Linked DNA regions of Homo sapiens: region 1 is linked to region 2. Evidence: promoter capture Hi-C in human tissues and cell types (Jung and others, 2019). All regions are on one chromosome and are shown on one strand. The core of a region is centred on a gene start or on the middle of the fragment in contact, and the rest is flanking DNA. Distances in the headings are between cores, read along the strand shown. Region 1 overlaps NDNF-AS1 (NDNF antisense RNA 1). Region 2 holds the start of PDE5A (phosphodiesterase 5A).

Region 1 (6,192 bases), core at 2,916-5,415, 1.5 Mb before region 2:
TCCTTATCTTGTTTCTTATCTTAGAGAAAAAGTTTTCAGTTTTTCAGCATTGAGTATGATGTTAGCTGTAGCTTTGTCATAAATGGCCTTTATTTTGTTGAGGTGCATTCCTAATACCTAATTTGTTGAGCATTTTATCATGACAGGATGTTGGATTTCATCAAATGCTTTTGCTACATCTATTGAGATGACCATATGGTTTTTTATTCTTTATTCTGTTAATGTGTTGTATCACATTTATTGCTTTGTATATGTTGAGCTATCCTTGCATCCCAGGGATAATTCCCATTTGATCATGGTTTATAATCCTTTTCCTGTGCTGTTGAATTTGCTTTGCTTGAATTTTACTGAGGGCTTTTACATCTGTGTTCATCAAAAATATCAGCCTATACTTTTCTGGCAGTACCTTTGTCTGGCTTTGGTATCAGAGTAATGCTGGCCTCATAAAATGAATTTGGAAATGTTACCTCCTGTTCAATTTTTTGGAAGACTTTGAGAAGGATTGGCATTAATTCTTCTTTAAATGTTTGGTAGAATCTTTAGTCACTTTATGAATGAAATTTCACCAATAAGAATAAAGCCAATCTAAAAATTTGAATTTCTTTTATACAGGAAACAATATGTATTTTGTTTCCTGTATAAAAGAAGAGAGAAACCATATCTGTTATCTAAACAGAGAGAGTTTTATATAACCAATTATCAAAAACTAAAAGCAAATGGGAACAGAGGTAGCAACTGAGAAAGCAATTACAATCCCTGTCCTGGAGCACAAAGGGAAGAGGTGGAATTGTCAAAACCTAGAAACTTAGAGTTAGAACCATGGACGGGCTCTGTGGAGCTGAAACTGGTATCTGAGGAAGAGGCCCTGAGTAGGCTAGTGTTACTGCCTTCGAGCTGCAAAACAAACTTCTACCTCGAGGACAGGGCACTGGTAAATTGGCACCGACGTCTCTGAGGGACTGTGATGAAGCTAGTTCTAAAGCTTGGGAAAACTGTGAACTGGAGTCAACAGCCGCTTCTACAAAATACTGCCACTGCCAAGTAAATAACTATAGCTACATTGAGGGAGACAGGAAGAGGATGCAAAAACAGAAGTAGGAATAAACTAGGAAGCACTGAGGAAGAAATGCATTATTTGTCTCTCCTCCACCTTTGCATTCTCCCTCCATAATCGCTGACTGGCAGAGCCTAACAGGAGCAGCTGGCAAAACAGAAATGTGTTTTGTAGAGTTTATCCCCAACACCACAAAGCAGGGTAGGGAGAAGCGCATTAAAAATTAAGTGAAAATAGCTTAACCCTGGGCACAAAATGTTACATAAAATTCAAAAGGGAACCTCATACATGTTCAGATTTTGAAAAAACAGGTGAACAAACAGAAAAAAAAAACCTGAACCCTAGCAATGAGACAAAAAAATGAAAAGTTCTACGTTGTTTTAGAGAGACCTGTGAACTTTCCCATTTCTTAAAACATTGGTTAATGGAATGTTGACATTATTGTCTTGTATACTTTTGAGGGAACAACAATATGCTAGAAGAGTTAAACAAAACACTGTCATATTACTTTTATGAAGAATTAATTAAGTGGAATATAAATCATTTCTCCATCTCCACTCTAAAATGGAACTATTCTGCTATCCTAAATGAATTTTTTTTCTGTTCAGATGCTTGAATTAGTCGTTTCACCCATTGAGAGATGCCATACAAAACCAAGAAATTGTGTGTTTTCTTTAGGTTAAAATAAATTAAGATGGCCTTTAATTTGGTTCTTCTCATTCATATTATAAAAATGTTCTAGTTCACATGAACAAAGATAGTACAAGAAACCCACACTAGCCCAGTAGCTGTTTGTGTTTCTGTGAATGTGTATACCTATGTTAGGGTCTAAGAGAAATGAAAGGAAGAATTAAAGTAAAACTGTAGATTTCTTCCTTTTCTATCTGACCTAATTCTGTAAAGCTCAGTTCTACACATATTATATCTTCAAAAGTACATGAAATTGGGGGCATTCCAAATTAACATCACCTCTTTTGAATTATGTCAATGACTGTCTGTTGAGCTTTTGAACATGTAATTATAGAGCTGTGGTGGGTTAAAAATGGCCACAAATTCTTTGCAGTTCCTTTCATCAGGGGTGGAGACTGATTCCTCACCTCTTGAATCTGAACCAGGCTTGTGAGTTGCTTTGTGAGACCAATAAAACGAGACAGAAGTGACAGTGCTCAGCCTCCATACCAGGCCTCAAGAGACCATTTCCTCATCTCTGCACCCCCTTCTCCAGCCCTACCCCATTGCAGGCCTTGGGAAACACTGCCCGTTCCTCTACTGTATTTCTTCCCTCCTTAGAATCTTTCAGGGCTTCCCTCTACTGTGAAGGATAAGACAAGATCCCTCCTGCCTTCCATATTAGCCTAGGAATATCACACTTCCCATGCATGCAAAACAAGAAGAGAATTAGATATTATTTTAGGTGGTTCTATAGCAAATATTTTGTATAATATGTATGAGGTAAAAAAATGTAACCCACACATAAAACAGATATTACTATTTAAGTTGTTAATTTTAAATAAGCTATTTAGTTAAAAGAAGATCTACAGCTTAAACTGAGTAATAGTAGAGGCTGTGTTCAAACACAGAAAACTTTTGGGGAATCCTGCTTTAAGGCAAATTGGTTCAAGTCTCACTTGGTACAAATACACTATCCAATTCACTTTATTTCCTTTCACCAAAAGGATCCCTCTAACTTTAAGATCCACCCTGCTTCAGCTTTCTGTTGCCAGTGAAAAAAATCAAGCAGCTTTTTAAAGCTTTCCTAACTAACTAGTAGCAAGATGGTAATTTTGGAAATATGCTACTCTTACCCCCCATCAATATTATTGTGCTTCTCCATTCTATTCATATTTTCTCATCACACAAGTTGTGGCTTTTTTATGTTAAATATGTATTGTGGTAGAAAATTGCAAAACATTTTCATCTCACTGCTCTGGGAACTTCTCTTTCATCTTCAGCCTTTCCCATTTTTCTATAATTCGTACCCTATGTAGCCCACTTTTCTGGCATTACTTCTAGTTTTAGTGCAGAGTAACATATTGTCCCTTTTTTCCCTTAGATTTCTCAACTCTTCTAGTGCATTTACACTGCTTCTCATTATTTTCTTGCCTTCTTCATCTCTTGCATGCTCTGCCTCCATGCTCTTTACTAATTATCCTTAACCCTCATGATTTTACCTGTCATTATTATCCCACCACTATTTTAAGCCCTAACCACTGTCTCCTTTTCTCTTCACTCTTTTCTCTCCTTTTTCTCCTCTTACTCAATGCCTTTATCCTTCATTTTATTGTGTTTCTTCTACATTGTGACCTGTTGCACTTACCTTGAAATCCAGAGGAGAAGCAAATAGAAGGTTTGTAAATGTGTTGCTGATGTAAAGATAAAGGGAGCCAGACACTTCTAGTGCTTTTGAAGTTCTTTTGGCATTTGAGTCCCACTTGATTTGTGTGACTGATTCCCTTAAGAACATTCTTACTCAAAATAAGTTACAAAAATTCTGGTCTAAAATTGATTGGATATAAGATTATCCTTAGTCTTTGAATGAGACTCTGTTTAACACAAATTACATATTCCTTACAGGTCAGTGTGCAATTTCCCACATAGATAAGGTCTTTGAAAAGTCCTTTCAAAATCAGAGTGATTTTCTCATGTTTTGACAGATGTACAAATGAGTTCTTTTGAGTTTAGTGTTTCAAATGACCTTTGAGTTTCAAGCCTATTTGAATTTTCATTATGTTATTCTCTTCTTCTAATTGCAAAAAAAAAAAAAAAAAAAAAAAAGTCCACCCTCTAAATTTGCAGTTTCTTCAAAATAGGAATTCCCTCAGAGTTTCACTGAGTAGTTTCAGCTAGGCGATTGAAAGTGACAGAATACCACTATGATTATCACATTAATAGAAATTATGGTCTTAGAAATAGAGAGAGCTATGGATAAAATGCTATGGAGACAAAAGAGAAATATTCAAGGCTCTATGTTTGGTTATACTTTTTGGACAAGAAAACATTGAAGGATTACATGGAAGGAATGGAGAGGATTTCGACTGGGTACATTTAAGCTTACATTAGAAAAATTCAAATTTTTCCTTTATAACACCAAGAGTTTTCAGAGTTACATTAGACACTATTGGTATGGAAACTGTTTTCCCAAAATCATTTCAGTGATTCAATTACCATTTATTTTCTAGAAAAAATGGCCCTACTTCTTTTAAATGACCGGAAATAATGCATTTTTTCTACAACAGAGCATAATGAGGGTTGAGAAGTTGCGCCAGAAAATGAGAACAGTCCCTGTTTCTCTTTACAATCCACGTACAGATTTTTGCATTTTATAGTGTAGTGATTCATTTTTGATCTAGTTTTACAATAGAATCTGATTTGGCACAATGAAGTAAATATTAACACATTTCTTTCCTAGATGTGGTATTCAAAAGTAGAAATGTGACAAAATCCAGTGTTAACTGGTCTAATCCAATAAGGAATTTAATACATTTGAGTCTGATAACACACACTGAAAAGCTTAACATAATTTTAAAATAATGCTATTCTACTAAAGTTTTATTTTCTCGAGGGAAATTTTTTTATATGCCAAACTACTAGGAAACAGTTAAAAATGGTTGTTAAGATGACTGGACTTGGCTTATTATTTCTTTCTTCAGTTTATTCTCCACATTTGTGAGTGACTACCTTGAATCCATTTCAAAAGGGGAGGAGCGAGTATAATAGCTGAAAGCACTGCCTGGGTTCAAATTTCTTGGCTAGAAATATGACAAGTTCTGACAGCCTCAGTAGCATCATCTCCAAAATGGGAATTCTAATAATTCCTACTGAAGATTGCTCTCACAAGGACTAATAAGCAGTGAGCGACAACAGCAGGCACTTAGAAACCACTCAATAAATAAGTGATTAAATGGCCAAAAGGTTAAGGTGGAGATTCCCCTCCTTTTTTTTAAAAAAAAAAATAACTAAGTTCTAGGGTTCACAGGTTACTTGTAATAGAAACTGGTTGAATCAAAGGTATATATAATCATATGCCTACTTTTTATGAGCTGCACATGTTGAGAGTTTTAAAAATTGTGTCAGCCCTCCTATTCACTGCTTTTCATAGAGAAGTTAGTTTTTAAAATGTCTTTAGGAAAGGACTCATACTGTGTCAATGACAGAGTTTAAGTGATTTTCAAATAAAAGAGAAGACTCAAGCAGCTAAACCAGTTTGGACTATTCCACCTCCCTCTGGCTTAATCTTTGAGATTTCTGACCTTAGAGGTTTGTGGCTAGAATTGATGGATAGGTACACTTTTGTGAAAACACTACATGTGGTTAGATTTGCTCTTATATGGTGTCAACAAGGAGACACCAAATCAAATTCTGTGGTAAGATCCCTTTTTAAATAATGCCCATTAACATGACAGCAGCAAAAAGGAAAAAAAAAGAATCTGTGAAATTAGTTGATAGAGGCTCCAAGGAATATCCTGGGGCAGCTTGAGTTGGTTCAGAACGCAGGCTTTAGAGTTTGACAGAATGAGACTCCGATCCCTGCTCAGCCACTGATGGCCATAAACCTCCGTTTTCTCATCTGTGAAATGCAAATAATGTCTTTTTCACTGGTTGTTTTTGGAATAAATTTGTAAAGGAAAGAGTTTTTGATTTGTTACATTTTGTCAAACCTGAAATTAATCATTTTGGCCATCCTAACAAGCAAGGTCTAAGTGATTCCTTTTGTTTTATTTTTTCACTTACAAAGTACGGTTTTCTGATTAGGGAGAAGCAATGTTTTATTTGAACAGAAATTGAATCCAGGGAGTAAAAATTGGTGATTATTATATAGGCAATTGTTTAGTGCCTATTATATATCACATGCTTTACATATTAAAAATAGTTTAACCCTAACAATAACCTTATCAGAGAAATTTTATTATCCCCATTTTACAGATGAGGAAACTGAACTTCAGAAAGATTAAATAACTTTCCAAGTTCACACAGTCACAAAGTTATTAAATGTCAGTGCAGGAAACTGTACCCAAGACCTCTGGCTCCGATGTCTGTGTTCTTTCCACTACATCTGATGCCATTCAGCTTCAAAACATTTAAAAAAATAACCAGGCTTTATGTCTGTGTGGCCTTAAGGCTGTATGATATCACTGGCA
Region 2 (6,300 bases), core at 2,863-5,362:
TGTTAGTGTTGCCGTAACAAAGTACCACACGCTGGGTGGCTTAAATAACAGAAATTGATCTTGCCACTGTGCTGGGGACTAGAAGTCCAAGATCAAGGTGCCAGCAGGTTGGATTCCTTGGAGGTGTCTCTCCTCGGTTTGCAAATGGCCATTCTCTTGCTGCCTCTTCACACGGTTATCCCTCTGTGGGAGAGTATCACCGGTGTCACTTTTTTGTGTGTGCAAATTCCCTCTTCTTATAGTGGCACCAGTCAGATTGGATTAGGGACCACTCTCATGACCTCATCTAACCTTGATTGCCTCTTTAAAGGCCCTATCTCCAAATACAATCACATTCTGTGGTACTAGGGGTTAGGGCTTCAACATATGAATCTGGGGAAACAAATCAGCCCATAAGACTAGTATACAGAGATACAATTGATTTTTGTATACTGACCATTTATGCTGCAAGCTTGCTGAATCACCTCTTAATTCTTGTAGTTGCTTTGTGCATTCCTTTGGGTATTCCTCATAGATACTCATGTCTGCAAATGGAGAATGTTTACTTTTTCATTTTTATGCCTTATATTTCTTTTTTGTGTTTTTGCTTTGTTGCATTTGTTTTTTCTATTTGTATGACCAAAATCTTTAGCAGTACAGGTAGGTAACAACCAAATAATGTAGAACCCCATAAGCCACGTTACAGAGTTTGAATTTTATTTTAGCACAGTGGGAATACATTGAAGGTCTTTAGTTAAGCTGTTGCTCATGAGCAACAAATGAGCAATGACATATATGTATGTATATACACATATATATCATTGATTTTATATATATATATATATATATCTTAGTCCACTTGTGTTGCAATAACAAAATACCACAGACTGGGTCATTTACAAAAATTAAATATATATATACATATACACACATATATATATCATACATATACACATACATACATCATTGCTCATTTGTTTGTTATAAATAGCATTAACAGCATTTTTCAAGTTATATCCTGGGAGTGTTTATGATTTACTTATTCTTCAACTAATTCCATAACAAGATTTGAGGTGCTTAGAACAATTCATGCCAAGTTAAAACAAAATAATTGGGCAAATTGGGATAAAGAATAAAATGGAGTTGAAAAACAAGAGGCCCAGGTAATGTCAGTTCAAAATATGCTTACCTTTAACTACTTTAAATTTACAGGAGGTATAGTTACACATTTTGGCTGAATCTCCCAGAGACTAGAACTGTTTGAGACACTTCTGTTCCCCAATCCCTTGTGATATGTTTCTCAGGTAATAGGCCTTCACAGTAACTCCCAAACTATCATATATACCACACAGACTTGAGATTCACTATTGAGAGAATCTATGTACTGTTTTTCTTTTTTTTTCTTTTTTGTTATAGAGCCGGGGGTCTTACACTGTCACTGAGGCTGAAGTGCAATGGCACGATCATGGCTCACTGCAGCCTTGACCTCCTGGGCTCAATCCTCTTGCCTCAGCCTCTCGAATAACTAGGATTACAGGTGTGTTCCCCCATGCCTGGCTAATTTTTAAAAATTTTGTGTAGAGATGGGGTCATGCCATGTGGCCCAGGCTGGTTCAAACTCCTGAGCTCAAGTATCCTTCTACCTCTCCCTCCCAAAGTTCTGAGATTACAGGAATGAGCCACTGTGCCCAGCCTATAGATTGTTTTTCTTGAAGCAATTTTTCAGAAACCTTCCTGGTTTCTGATAATTTAACCCTTTCAGGTTAGGAGAGAAAAATGAACATTTTGATATTACCCACTGTCTTAGTCCATTTGTGTTGCTGTAATAAAATATCACAGACTGGGATATTTATAAACAATAGAAATTAATTTCTCTCAGTTCTGGAGGCTGGAAACTCCAAAATCAAAGTGCCAGCAGATTTGGCAACTGGTGAGGGCTGCTCTTTGCTTACAAAATGGCACCTTGTTGCTGCATCCTCAGCAAGGGTCAGTGCTGTGTCTTCACATAGTGGAAAGAATAGAAGGGGCCAACTGTCTCCTTTGGGCCTTTTTTTAAAAAGGCACTAATGCATTCACAAAGGCAGAGCCCTAATGGTCTAATCACCACTTAAAGGCACCTCCTCTTAATACTGTTGAATTAGGGATTAAGTTTCAACATGAATTTTGGAGGGAATACAAACATTGAAATGATTATACGTGTTTATTTAATCAAGTATCCAACAAAAGCAAATAATTCAAGCCCCAAATTCACTGCATCTTTAGTAGATAAGCAGAGTTTTAAATTACGATTGATCTCCTGTTAGGAGGAATGCATGGATTTCCACAAGAAAAAACTGTACTGAGGAGAAACTTTCCACAGTAATGTGCCACTTTTCAGTCAACGACAGACCACATATATGAGTCCCATAAGATAATACTATATTTTTACTGTACCTTTTCTATGTTTAGATATGTTTAGACACACAAATATCATTGCATTACAATTGCCTACAGTATTCAGTACAGTAATATGCTGTATAGATTTGTGGTCTAGGAGCAATAGCCTAAGTGTGTAGTAGGCTGAGCCATCTATTTTGTGTTAGTACACTGTGATGTTCAGAGAAGGATGAAATTGCCTAAGGATACATTTCTCAGAATGTATCCTGTTGTTCGGTGACGCATGACTGTATTCCATGAGCACTATAATCACTATCATAGTAACACATTAGGAGAGAATTCTCATTTCTAAATCCAATATAATTTATCACCCATTAGTTCATACTCTACTGCTTTGATTGCTTTTCTTTGGTTGTGGCTACCTGCATACAGCAGTAAAGTTTCAGAAAAACTGAAGTCGCAAAAGGTCAATTACTCAATGAAGGAAAGATAAACCATTGCATTGGGGGACTAGAAGATACTTTTAAAAGTTCTCAGATTATCAATTTAATGATGTGTTTCTATGTAGTGAATAATGCCTTAAATTCTTGCCAAGAGTATTTAGAAGGAAGTTGTCAGAAGTATATCAGCTAACTCATTTTTTTTTATATCACTGCTAATGGTGTCATTCACACATTGTGCAACCCATAATTCCAGATTTAATTCTACCAAAAAATATAGGTCATTGCAAAATGCCATATTAAAACTGCCAATGCATGACAGGAAGATGGGGATGCAGACAAAGCAAAGGATGACACCAATTCCTTTTTTAAAGAAGCAAGATAGGGATTGGACAAAAAGGCTGAGCCATTTTTAATGGATACTTTTGAGGGAGTGTTAATTCCAATTTAATTAAAATGATGCATTAATTTAAAATTGGGATAACTGGTTGCCCTCGACTGCACCTGGGTTGCGCCAGTGCTCTCGGATTAACCTAATTGTACAGAGGTGCCCTTGTTTTCTAACTTCATGCACAAAGCATTGGAAATTATTTGTTTGCTTTTTCTTTTCCAAGTAAATCTTTTTCCAGTTATGCATAAGGGAAGTTTGAGGCAATGGTTAAAGGCACTTAAGTTATAATTATTGCTGTTATCATTAACATTAAGCACGGGTATGGCTTTGTTGCAAGTTACCCACCTACACCTGCAAATCTCTCTTGCTAGCACACGCCCCAGCTCTCTCCACCCGCAGTGGTCCGTGGCTGGACCGCTTTAAGTCACTGAGCGGGCTGGGCTCTGAAGGAGGTCGGTCCCGCTCCTCCCAGACCCAAGCGTAGGGCTAGGGAAAAGCTAGGCGGGAAGGTCATTGCACTCCCAGGCCCCAGGAAAAGGGCCCAGGGTCTCATCATCTCTTACTTTCGGGCAAAACTTCCCACATCGCGACCTTCCCTCCCTGGGGCACTCTGAGAACACACCCAGTCACCTAGCGCGCTCCCCAGAAGTCGGCTTGGCACACAGCGCACCCCAGCGGCCGCGCGGCCTCCTTCCAGCCGCCGCCACTTGGCTTCCGGAGAGCTCGCCGGGCGCTGCCGCTGCCGCCGCCGCCGCCGCCTCCTGGGAACCAGGGGACTGAAGAGCCTGCGAGAGCGGAACACTGCCGGACCCCGGGTGGGGGGGGCGCAGCAGCTGCGCCTGGCCCCGCCCACCACACCTGGGCGCCCGTAGAACCGCGCGGGGCGGGGCGGGGCAGGAGGCTGGCCTGGCGCTCCGGCCGCTTTGTCGAAAGCCGGCCCGACTGGAGCAGGACGAAGGGGGAGGGTCTCGAGGCCGAGTCCTGTTCTTCTGAGGGACGGACCCCAGCTGGGGTGGAAAAGCAGTACCAGAGAGCCTCCGAGGCGCGCGGTGCCAACCATGGAGCGGGCCGGCCCCAGCTTCGGGCAGCAGCGACAGCAGCAGCAGCCCCAGCAGCAGAAGCAGCAGCAGAGGGATCAGGACTCGGTCGAAGCATGGCTGGACGATCACTGGGACTTTACCTTCTCATACTTTGTTAGAAAAGCCACCAGGTAAGAAGAGGACCCACGGAAGACCCGGGGCTGATTTCTCTCCCCTGTTGAATTGTGCCCTTCGTTCACCCCTGTTCCCAGGCCCTTTGCTTTTGAAGTAGGTCCTCGGTCCTGTTACGAGGTAGAAACCTCAACTCTAAGCGAGCACAGTCGAAAAACTCAAGTGTCGGATTTGATACAACTTGCTCACAAAGTTCAAATACAAAAATGTACTTGCCGACCTCCCACCCTCACCCCCGACCCTCTTGGTATTCCCCGGGAACATGATTATTTTCATACATCCGTGCTCACGGGCCTTCCCCTAGCCCCTCTCTAGCCCTCTGGTTCCCCAAAATCCAATCAGCAAAACCCAAACAGTTTCTGAGCCCCTTCCCTGCAGCTCCGGAAGCACCATTTCCAAGTCGGTCTTGATGGCTCCGCTCCTCCCCCGTCCCCCCTCGCCCTGGCCCTGGCTGGGCGGGGAAGCTGGGGTGAGGGACGAGTCCACGGGACAGCCCAAAGGCAACATGACGGAACCTTGCCAAAGTGAGTGCGGTTGCCTTTTCCCCCCTTCCAGTCTCCTGCTTGTCCCGCGCGCCTCCTTTCACTCGCTTTTCCGCCGAAGGCTGTGCCGCCAAAAGTAGAGCTCTGCAGAGGGGTTTGCGGCGTGCACACAAAGGGCGCAGGGGAGGCGCCGCCTGGAGCGGACCCCAAGGGGCAGCGCAGACCCCAGAGGCCAGCTCTTTCTGGTCCAGAGCCAAGCGCCGGGGCGGCCCTTGCGGAGGGCGGGGAGGAGGGAGCCTGTCCTTTTGGAGGCGGCTGCGCAGCGGGCAGTCGGGGCGCTCGTGGGAAACGCTCGCGGGAGAGTTGGGGAGGAATTGAGACTGGGAGCAGAGGGACAAGAAGAGTGGAGCAGAGAGTGCTTGGCGGGCGGGTGCCCCGAAGCCTGAGGAATTGATGCATAGTCGGGGTGCGTGGACTCCAGGACGCGCCCCTTTGCAGAAAGAGTCCGTGCCCCGCTGCCGCCTGCTCTGGGCAGCGGCCGTCGGGCAGCGGGTGCTGGCCGTCTTGGCCGGGAGGGTGACACACGCCCGGCAGTGATGGTCGAGGAGCCCGCCCGGGTTCGACGCCCGGGTCCCACTCGCCGGCGCGCGGCCGCGGCTCTGCCGGTCGCTCCCCGCCAGGGGGCGGCGCAGCGCGGGGCGAGCGGGAGGCGACGGGCGGCGGCGCGGAGGCCGGGGCCGTGAGGGAGCTGGTTCTGAGTCGCCGACCTCACCTCACCTCACCTGCGCGCGTTGTTGCCCCTACGGAGCCTCCTGGAGTCCAGGATCGGCGGAGTTCGAAAACGAACTTCCCACGTTTGCTATGTTGCCCTTTGGAGACAAAACAAGGTACTTCCTTCAGCATCCCCCTACGTCCCTTCCCACTTTTTCCGGGGGCGCGGCGGGTCTCGGGTGCTGGGTGGTGGCGCCCCGGTGGCACCAGTGGGACGATGTATCATTGAAAATTGACTGTATAACTTTTGTTGTTGTTGTTATTCTTTGCTCTCTTGCAGATGTATTAATAAGGGTCTTAAATTGGGCCCTTTTTAATCTTGTTTTGTTTTGTTTTGTTTTGTTTTTTTCCTAAGGAACATCCAGAGTTGGTGTCAATTTAGTCACTTTCAGGGTTTTTTGACAGAGGGGAAGGCTCCGGGATTAATCTTTTCAATTTAATAACCCAGCCCTTCTTTTAAAATCGTCTTCCCCCGCTTTCACCTTCTTCCTTCAAAATCCTAAATCTTGAGCGCCCAGAGGATAGCCCTGAAAGGGCACTTTTTTGCGAGTTTAGCGTGAGACACTAAGGCCATGGAGGTCTAGAATGATCGGTTGCTGTCGACTAACAGTTTTCAGGGGTCACCTGCCCCTCTGAGGCCATCTGCACCC

The links. The method cuts DNA at HindIII sites, captures the fragments that hold promoters and counts their contacts. A contact is called where the count stands out against the background at its distance.
Region 1: a fragment that was not itself captured here is called in contact with the fragment with the promoter of PDE5A in region 2 in 1 of the 25 tissues and cell types used here (dorsolateral prefrontal cortex).

The regions. Positions count from the first base shown.
Region 1 is chr4:121,079,552-121,085,743 of GRCh38, reverse strand. NDNF-AS1 (NDNF antisense RNA 1) reads right to left here. Exons shown (of 3, transcript NR_187407.1): 3 at 4,005-5,621. Among named protein-coding and RNA genes, the nearest start is that of NDNF, 10 kb to the right of the region's middle. The HindIII fragment of the contact is 4,542 bases long and covers 1,895-6,192 here.
Region 2 is chr4:119,626,616-119,632,915 of GRCh38, reverse strand. It overlaps PDE5A (phosphodiesterase 5A), which reads left to right and starts at 4,112. Exons shown (of 21, transcript NM_001083.4): 1 at 4,112-4,396. The coding sequence starts at 4,245. It overlaps LOC107986192 (a long non-coding RNA gene), which reads right to left and starts at 5,126. Exons shown (of 1, transcript NR_165235.1): 1 at 2,161-5,126. RefSeq lists silencers at 3,779-4,178, 5,399-5,678 and an enhancer at 5,219-5,268. The HindIII fragment of the contact is 10,592 bases long and covers 1-6,300 here.